Regions from separate parts of the Homo sapiens genome. Here regions 1 and 2 are each linked to region 3. Evidence: promoter capture Hi-C in human tissues and cell types (Jung and others, 2019). All regions are on one chromosome and are shown on one strand. The core of a region is centred on a gene start or on the middle of the fragment in contact, and the rest is flanking DNA. Distances in the headings are between cores, read along the strand shown.

What was found. The method cuts DNA at HindIII sites, captures the fragments that hold promoters and counts their contacts. A contact is called where the count stands out against the background at its distance.
Region 1: a fragment that was not itself captured here is called in contact with the fragment with the promoter of KCNRG in region 3 in 3 of the 25 tissues and cell types used here (heart left ventricle, mesendoderm cells and spleen).
Region 2: a contact is called between a fragment that was not itself captured here and the fragment with the promoter of KCNRG in region 3, in 2 of the 25 tissues and cell types used here (adrenal gland and liver).

The regions. Positions count from the first base shown.
Region 1 is chr13:50,191,653-50,194,673 of GRCh38, reverse strand. All of the region lies in intron 2 of DLEU1 (deleted in lymphocytic leukemia 1), which reads right to left. Among named protein-coding and RNA genes, the nearest start is that of DLEU2, 68 kb to the right of the region's middle. The HindIII fragment of the contact is 7,991 bases long and covers 1-3,021 here.
Region 2 is chr13:50,156,010-50,159,257 of GRCh38, reverse strand. All of the region lies in intron 2 of DLEU1 (deleted in lymphocytic leukemia 1), which reads right to left. Among named protein-coding and RNA genes, the nearest start is that of DLEU2, 32 kb to the right of the region's middle. The HindIII fragment of the contact is 5,908 bases long and covers 1-3,248 here.
Region 3 is chr13:50,014,141-50,017,333 of GRCh38, reverse strand. KCNRG (potassium channel regulator) reads right to left here and starts at 1,890. Exons shown (of 2, transcript NM_173605.2): 1 at 1,263-1,890. The coding sequence starts at 1,840. TRIM13 (tripartite motif containing 13) reads right to left here. Exons shown (of 2, transcript NM_213590.3): 2 at 1-3,193. All of the region lies in intron 10 of DLEU2 (deleted in lymphocytic leukemia 2), which reads left to right. The HindIII fragment of the contact is 16,932 bases long and covers 1-3,193 here.

The sequences.
Region 1 (3,021 bases), core at 161-2,660, 180 kb before region 3:
GCCCCAATTTTACTTCTACCACCCAAAAGGATTCAAGGATGTTATTTAAAAGATCCCTTTTTAAGTGCTGATATACAAAGGGTAATGCAACTGAGATAAAAGCGTGGTGCCTTTTCAGTTGCTGTATATCTGCCAGTCATTCTTCACCACAGTCCCTACTCTCAGGTCTGTGGAACCCTGGAGTAGTGAGGAGTGGAAGGGTGGACAAGGTGACTCATAGTTACAAGCGTGATGGTGATAGTTTTTTATATACATTAAAATGTATTTTTAATTCATTCTCCCCTATGAATCAGGTTCTCTGCAGCCTTTTCACCAATATGGCCTCAGAGAAAGGGAAAAAGCAACTCCTCAGGAAGGAGAATGAAATAACTTAAAACTATTTTCTACCAAACAGAAGGGAAAAGAAAAGCTCATGGTGATGGGTAAGAAGACGTTAAAAAGATGGAGACATAAGCAGGAAAACATGGTTTCTTTGCCTTGGACCTAAATCTCAAATTGAGAGGTTTTAGGTGAAGGTTAAGGGAAAAGTCAAAAGTAGAGGATTTTTCTATTTAAAAATGGGCAAAATATCTTAATAGACATTTCTCAAAAGAAGACTTACAAATGGCCAACAGCTACATGAAAAAAAATGCTCAAAATCACTAATCATCAGAGAAATGAAAATCAAAACCACAATGAGATATCACTTCACACCCATTAGAATGGCTTTTATCAAAAAGACAAGAGACAAGAAATGTTGGCAAGGATGTGGAGAAAAAGAAACCCTTGTACACTGTTGGTGGAAATGTAAATTAGCATAGCCATTATGAAAACAGTATGCAGGCTCCTCAAAAAATTAAAAATAGAACTACCATATGATCCAGCAATCCCACTCCTGGGTATACATCCAAAGGAAATGAAATCAGTATGTCAAAGAGATATCTGTACTCTCATGCTAACTGCGGCATTATATAGTATTTCCATTTACAGATACAATAGACACAAATAGGCTGGGTGTGGTGGCTCAGGTCTGTCATCTCAGCACTTTGGGAGACTGAGTCTGGAAGATCACTTGAGGCCAGGAGTTCAAGACCAGTCTGGGCAACACAGTAAGACCCCAGTCTCTAAAAAAAAAATTGTTTTAATTAGCCAGGCGTGGTGGCTAGTGTCTATAGTTCCACCTACATGGGAGGCTGAGCTGGGAAGATCACTTGAGCTCAGAGCTTTGAGGCTGCAGTGAGCTATGATTGTGCCACTGCACTCCGGCCTGGGCTTCCAACCTGGGTAACAGAGCAAGACCCTGTCTCTAAAACAAACAAAAAGACATAAATAACTTCAATTGCAAGAATAATAGTAAAATGTACTTAAATAATTAAAAAGTGGTGAGTTTTGAGTACTACCTTTCTTTTTAATATTGTAAGTTTATATAACTTATCTAATAATGGTTGCATATAACAAGTGACTTGCAGAATTCCCCTAAACTTAACAATCAGCTCTGAAAAGCAAGCGTGAGCCAGTAGATCATGCTACTGCTTAAGAGCTCACACCCATTTACCACAGATATCATCTCGAAGAGGCAAGTGGAAGGAAAATTGAACAACTGAGTCATTTCCCCAAAATAAATTAACTTATCATTAATGATAAAGGTAAGTGGCTACTGCCACCTCTGCTGCCACCACTTTCAACCTCAAAGGTTCAGGAAGAGATGAAATCAGTTACCAAAACGTTACAGAAACTATTTTTTTTTATATCTGAATTTTAGTGTGTGTCAGTTAGAAATTCTGTGCCAAGTATGGAATCCTTCAATGGAGGTAGCTTATGTGGGTAGAGGTTTATTGCATTCACATGTCAAACAATAAGGCTTATTACTTCATGGTCAGAAAATAGCTGCCTCAGCTCCAGGCAATACATTTGTTTTCAAGCCAAGATGAAGGGGCAAGCAGCACAGCAGTTTCTCTGCTCTTTTATTAAGAGCACAAAAGCTTTCCCAGGAGTCTTCCTTCCCCATTCCCTTCTTCCCAGTGGACTTCTGCTGCTTAAATCTTACTGGTCAGAACAAGGTTACTCAGCCACCCCTAGCTGCAGGGAAGCTATCCTTATCCTTAATAGAAGATATTCTGATTGGCTGAAACCAGTCAAGATCCATTGCCCGGGCTGAGTACATTGCTGCCAATATATGAACAAACTCTGGGTTCTGTTAGGGAGGAAGACTTGGGTAATGGAGAATGGGCAAGCTGGCAGCAGAGTCTGGTGCAGTTTAAGTCAATATTTCTAACCCCAATTTACACAGCAGATAAAAAGTAGAAGGACTATTTTAAGTGGAAAAGAGCCAAGATTGGCATTTGCTTGCCAGAGCATAAGATGGAAATGCAGGAAGAGCCTGGGAAGTGTCTCTCATATCTAAGGCAGAATGCTACCAGGGGTACAAACGAGTAGGGCCTGGACATCTTAGCTGCTGCTGGACCTCCAGGTCCCACCGGCCATCATGCTGACTGAACAGCCACTGTAAGAACAGGAAATGGGGTACAGACAATGAAGTCCAATGTTAAAGAGGTTTCCCTGTCCAGGAAAACAAAGGAACAATAGACTCCTACGCTTAATATTTTAAGAGTTTTGTGGTGCTTTCTGAGGACCTGAGGCCCACTTGCTCTTCCCTTAGGACATAGCTCATGTTTCATAAAGCTGGGGCGAGCAGTAGGACTGAGAAGAAAAGTGAGAAGATTCCTCCTTCCCTGCCTCTAATGAACAAACCTTGGGACTAGCAAAGGTTAATTACTTGCCTGATCCAGGCTTATTCCTTGAAAAGGAGCTGAATGACTAAACATTTGTGAACATTGAGTCGCACAGCCCATCAGCAAATGGAGCCTGCCCTACTCTAACCAGGCACATGACCATCACCTGGCCAATGGACTAATTGTAGGACTGATGCTGGATTCAGAAAAAAAGCAAGTCAGAGCTGTTCAGGAGGCTACAGGGGCTGGGGGAGTGAGAATTACAACTAAACAGGACTTAAATGTAAAATTAAAAGTTCCATGTTAGCTT
Region 2 (3,248 bases), core at 407-2,906, 140 kb before region 3:
CTTAAGCTCTCTTAACAAGAGTTATCCCCCTTGTTTCTAAACTGCCAAAGTTTCATGCTGTATGTCTTCCCCTGGCCTACCTCCCATGAATGTTCTCAGGATCTTTCTTCCTCCAACCTGGTTCTCTGTTAAGACCCTTCTTTCTTAGTTCCAAAGATAACTGCTCATTTAGGCTGACAAACTCACCAAATGTGCAAATGCTCCACAGGAACATATTTGCATTTTTGAAAGTCCCTTCTGGAAACAATGGCCGGAATGACACCAATGGGGGAAATTTCAGACCTTAATGTGAATTGGCTAGAGGAGAAATTTGGGGACCTGAAAGAGAAACTGCTCTCAGTCATATCTCCTTAATTTTCTGTCAACCCTTTTTCAACCAGTGACTGACCTGGGTCTTTTCTAGATCCATTTCAGCAAGCCTACTTAACCACCGTATAAGAACATAACCCATAAAACACCCTCAAATTCCCAACAGAAGCTAAGGTAGCTGAAAAAAGAAGTACCTGATTTCCATGGGCACATGTTAAGTGGAAAAGTTTGCTCCCTTCACCCAAAAAAAATCTTGCCTCTGCAAGCACTAGCCTGGTACCTTCCAGAAGGTGAATAAATTAACTTGCCAATACCACTTAAGGCAAATGGCTTAATGTTTTCACCAGATCTGACCAGGCCCCAACAACAAGGAGTGGGTGGAGATGAGCGTGTATTTTCATTTATTTCACGAGCCCTATTCTCTGTGGACTTGTAGTTTCTAAACCTAGGTACAAAAAAAAGCTTTAACTGCATGAGTAACTTTTGTTTTGTGGTACATTATTGTTCACTTTCAATAATGTAACTCAAAAATGACTTATAGGATTACAAGAATATGGTATAAAATTTCTAATACAATTCAATGACCCTTAAGCAAAAACATGATCACCATCAACTGAAGTTATCCTATACAATGGCAGGAAACTGTCAAGCCCAATTATGTGAAAATGCAAGAGAAATGTTTAGACAAGCTCCTCACCAAGACTTTCCATTGCTCATACAATAGAGGAGGATTAAGATCAAAACTATAATATTATATCAGTTTTATGATTATAAAATATGCTATTCAAGTTAGTTCAACGTAGCATTGTCTGTCCTAGTACATATATTAGGATAACATTATAATGTATTTCTAAGAGGCAAATCACAGAAGCCACTTACCAATCAAAATGTGTAACTCCAGGTGAAGCTAGACAAAATTATTGATACAAATTTTCTCCAGAAGAGTGATTTAGGAATGCAAAATACTCTAGACACACCACCCATCCACAGTTGGTGTGTCTTGCTTTATTAGATGCAATCCATTTCCTCAGACACTTGTTCAATTGAGGTCTTGTAAAACTATTAGATTAGCATTGGGCATATAGTAAGTGCACAAAGAAATTTGTTGTTGTTGTTGTTGTTGTTGTTGTTGTTGTTGTTGTTTTGAGACGGAGTCTCGCTCTGTCACCTAGGCTGGAGTGCAGTGACGCGATCTTGGTTCACTACAAGCTCTGCCTCCCGGGTTCACGCCATTCTCCTGCCTCAGCCTCCCGAGTAGCTGGGACTACAAGGGCCTACCCCCGTGCCCAGCTAATTTTTTTTTGTATTTTTAGTAGAGACAGGGTTTCATGAAAGAATGAATGAGTGAATTGTTGGATAGACTAAGTATCTTCAATAAATGCAGAAAATGCCAGTGTAGAACCATATTACACTTTCTTCAAAAATGCTATTCTACTCTGCTTGTTAATTATCTCCTTAAGATAATTTCACTTTTTTAAATGTTTTAAGGCATTTGTTTTACTAGCAATGAATTAAATGTTAGTTAAGAATCTGCACGTCTAATCCATTTAGATATAGCATGTATTTTCTTCCTAGTTCATACATCTCATAAAATGCAAAAAAAAAGTATAATCCTGCTAGCATAAGTCATTAGCAGACAAAGATAAAAACTCATGAGCTCTGTGTTTTATTTTATCTCACATTCTGCTTCATAGTCCAACCAAGTTTCATAATGAAAATTTTTCTCAGCCGACGCCTCAAATGCTTTATTCTTCAAATACAATTGATTTGACCAATATCGCTGTGGTTTGGAAATGTTTTTCTTCCTGTTGGTCTCTGCCATGATCTCCTCTGGATATAGTTCAATTAGATGCCTTCTCACTTTTTCACAAGTTGCCTGTTATTGTAAAAGTTTGGGAAAACTTTGAAAAAGAACTATAAAACGTTTTCACTGTCAATAGAAAAAAATGGATTGCTTGAGCCAGACACAGCTCCCCATAGAGCTAACCTTTTGATCCTGGAATCCTTTCATGCGCTTAAGTCTTCACTAGCGTCAATGGGAGTGTTGTGTATGCAAGGGCAGCAGGATCAAGTTCAGTCTCTTCTTTAGTACTCTGTAGCCAAGTGGGGTAGCCAGCTGAATCTGGTTTAGTTAAAAAAAAAAAAAAAAAAAAAAAAACACAACACTTTCCTGATGCTTTGAAGTTTTTTGGGCAGTGTAATAATATCAGGATTTGTAGGACGTTATTTTGCATAATCCTTAATAAGATATTCTTATGGCTTCAAAAAGTTAGTGGGTTAAGAGAAGCAAGAACCTCCAGCACTCATAGGAAATATTTTTTTAAGTTCTGGGTAGAAATGGCTCAAAATGCATCTCGGGAAGATACATAATTATAAGACTGTCCAAATGTGTGTTCAGGCAGGAATGCACCTAAAACTATTCTTCATAGATGGATTTCTACTCTATCTTTAAAAGATAGAGATATAATATAATAATCTCTCAAAAGCTCTGATGAAAACAAAGAAGCTTGCTGGAGGATTCTACTATGTGTGTGGATTAAGTAACTCTGTGACTAATCCAACTATTTGAATCAAAACAAGGCATTCCTTTAGAATCTTTATCACTCTAACCTCACACTCACTCACTGATGAGGACTTTTTTCCAGGCAAGGTCAAAGGGCTGACCAAGGTGATTCTGCACCACCAAATAGAAAGGAGGCTGGAGAAGGGAGAAGTGCAGCGGCAGGATACAGAAGCCACAAAATCTCTCTGCTGGAAGCCAGTTCACCTTATTATTACCAAGAAACTGAGGTTCACTTTCTGGCATTTTGGCCTGAGCATTAAAATTTTAAATTAACACCATTGAACACAACCTACTCTTTTTTTTAATGAGCATTTTATTGTCACTTTGTGGAAGGGTACTGAAACCTCTGATTTAGTATAATCATATGATTATGATT
Region 3 (3,193 bases), core at 641-3,140:
ACATCTTCTTTTGACCTAGTGTGTTTCTTCTTAAAAATCAATGACAGTTTTGTCTCTAGGTTTCTGACTTTTTGAAGCATGATCCCCAAAGAGGTCATAATCACTCATATTTTAAAAACCAAAAAAAATTTCATTTTTGTTAAAGTATCCCATCAATGAAAATAAAGTTGTACAGAGGTTTGAGATAAAGATAAGGTATTAGATTTTCTTCACAATCAGCCTACTAGCTTGACTGGCTCTCTTTTCCCAAAATGACATTTCAAACTCTTTTGAAGGACAGGAAGTTATAAAATGTAAACAATTAAGAATTGTCATACTCGGTTATTCTACCTAGTGTCCTCCAGTTGGTAAGCAAGACCAAGGAGTGTGTCGCTAAGAGAGAGAGACACTGGTATCCTTCCTGTTGGCTACTGCTCAAGTTAAGAAAATATCTTAAAATACGCCTACCTTTACCAAAAAAAAAAAAAAAAGTATATTTTAAATGATACCAATAAAGAACACATGCAGGCTTTTCTTTTCCTCCTAAAAATTAAAGCCAGCTTTCACAGTTGGTAAAATAATGGTAGGACAGCATTAAGACATTTTACGGGGGGAAAAATGTTTGTGACAGCAGAGTGGAAATCAGCGTTAGGATCCAGCCAAGAACAACAGAGGGAGTAAGTGAAGAATTGACTCAGGAGCAACTATCCTTAACATACTGACAGCCTATCCCAATATTTTGAGTTGTTTAAGAGCCAAGGCTGTAACAGGATACCAAATTTGCCATGAGATATATCTGTCTTTAAGGGTGTTTAAAAATAAAGTCAGCTGAAGGAAAAACAGTAGTTGAATCATAAAACTGAAAGAACAACTTATATAGTGTGTAAGGAACTCAAGAGAAACCAGTGAGCGAGCCTTTATGTGAACCACTGAAACAATCTCTTAAAAATAAGGCAATTCTTTTCTAAGTCAAATTCATTAGCAATGGAACATAATCTACAAAATTATTTTCTCCCATGATTTGAATGTCCATAGTCTCAGTTTTTTCTGGGCAGTCTTCATTTATTCCTTTTGTCCCACCTAATAATAGCCCCTTTCACTCTAAAAAGTATCCCAGTTTGGAAAATAATTATTTGGTCATTCTACCCAACTCCACTGGTTACCCCAAAACATTATTTTGAATAATCATCTTTTCCAGAAGTTACAGGCCTGAGGAACTTCAAGTTTTTAGAGAAAACATCACAAACTGGTATACAAGAGAAATACTGCAAAGTACAAAATACCTGACTCCAGTTTGGTTATCAGTAGTGCTGTCAGAACCACACTGGAAAACCAGGTCATGGTAAGAAGGTCTTTGTGGAGGCAGTGGAAGTAAGGTCATCTGAGGAGGGAAAAAGTTACCATTCCAGGTCGGCGCTGAAGGTTGTTCTGTAAACACTGTAATCCTCCCTGTTAGCATCTCAATTGTTTTGCTGCAAGAGCCAAACACCCTGAAAAAAGCTTGAGTGTTCCGGCTTAGGAAATGTACCTCCACAAGAGCAGGTCTTGGCTGTAGCAGGTATGGGTTTAAGAGATCAACTAGAGAACGAAGTTCATAGAAAAGAGCCTCTCTCTGAAGCCTAAGATAGTCTGAAAATTCAGTGGGTAATAAAAGCTGGTGAGTTCTCAAAAAATCTAAGATGAAACTAAACAAATCACCATCTCTGTCTACAAAAATCTGGCCACCAACCATCTTGAATTCTTGGTCTCTGCCATCTAACATGCGTGCCAAACGAGAAGCAGGAAACTGCTTTATCGTAGAAAACCTTGTCGTGAATATCTTCCCTCCCACATTCAAAGTGACCAGTTCCTGACTACTCATTCTTCCCTCACTTCAAACTAGAGGCTACCATCAGCCACACTTAGGAAATCAACCTATAACCATAAATGTTGCTAGTTATACATGATTATGCAGTGGAGGGGAGGGAAGAATAACAAAAACCAGACTTAGATTCCCAGGAAACTACTGTAAGGTAAATAGTGTATCCATGGCTGTGTTTGCAAATTCGAGTTGCCTGGGAACTTGCAGTATACAAAATGAAAAAGCAACAGATGAGGAACTAAATAGCTTAAGGAAAACTGCCAATATATCTGAAGATAGACATCAAATAGATCCCTTTCCTGTCTTACATTTAAAAACTTATCCATGAAAACCTAGTAAAACTATATATATATATATATATATATATATATATATATATATATATATATATATATATATTTTTTTTTTTTTTTTTTTTATTACTGGGAGGGGAAAAGCATTCTCCCTCCCCATACCTGTCTACCACGCAGAGGCTAGACTTAAACGTTTTTCTTAATTTCTTATGATCTCCTTAGAAATTTAGTGGCTAAATCATGAATTACATGTTAGGAATGAGACAGCCTGGCAAGCTCAATTTGACTATTCTCATAGCTAGAAGGAAATCATTTCTTCTGTGCTTTAAATTTAGTTGCCACCTTTTATCCTGTCCCCATTTTCATTACCTCCTCTCAACCAAATTAGAGGAGGACTGAGGTAAAGAACTCTTATTTTCAGAAAGTCTATTCCACTTAATGGGCTTTCAAGGAATATCTTACTCTATGACACAAATAAGGCAGACTAGAGAGCAGTTATAAGGTTACTTCTTTGTTATATGAATTCTAAGCAAGGTGTTTATTCCATGAGAGGGTATCTTTATCTCTTGTGAGCAGACAGAACAGCATTAGTGTTCAGCTGATTACTTTGTAATAGCTGACAGACTGTTTTATCTGTTGTCAAATTAGTCTTAACTACACTAAACATTCTTTCTGTAAGCAAGTGGATTGGTTTGGTTGTACACTTGCCATCTTTCGAACAAAACAACACATAGCTGCCAGAAAAAAGGTAGTCTTCCCATTTCCTGCTCTTGCCATGTGTTCTATATATACATATATATGTATATATATGTATGTGTACATATGTGTGTGTGTGTGTGTATATATATATATATATTTTTTTTTTTTTTTTTTTTTTTTTTTTTTTTGGTAGAGACTGGGTCTTGCTATGTTTACGAAGCTGGTTTCGAACTGGAACTCCTAGCCTCAAATAATCCTCCCACATCACTGTCCTAGAATGCTGAGATTATAGACATGAGCCACCCTGCCCAGCCAGCTGATCCTTTTTTTTAACCTATCTATGCTTTTGCTTGCATAGCCA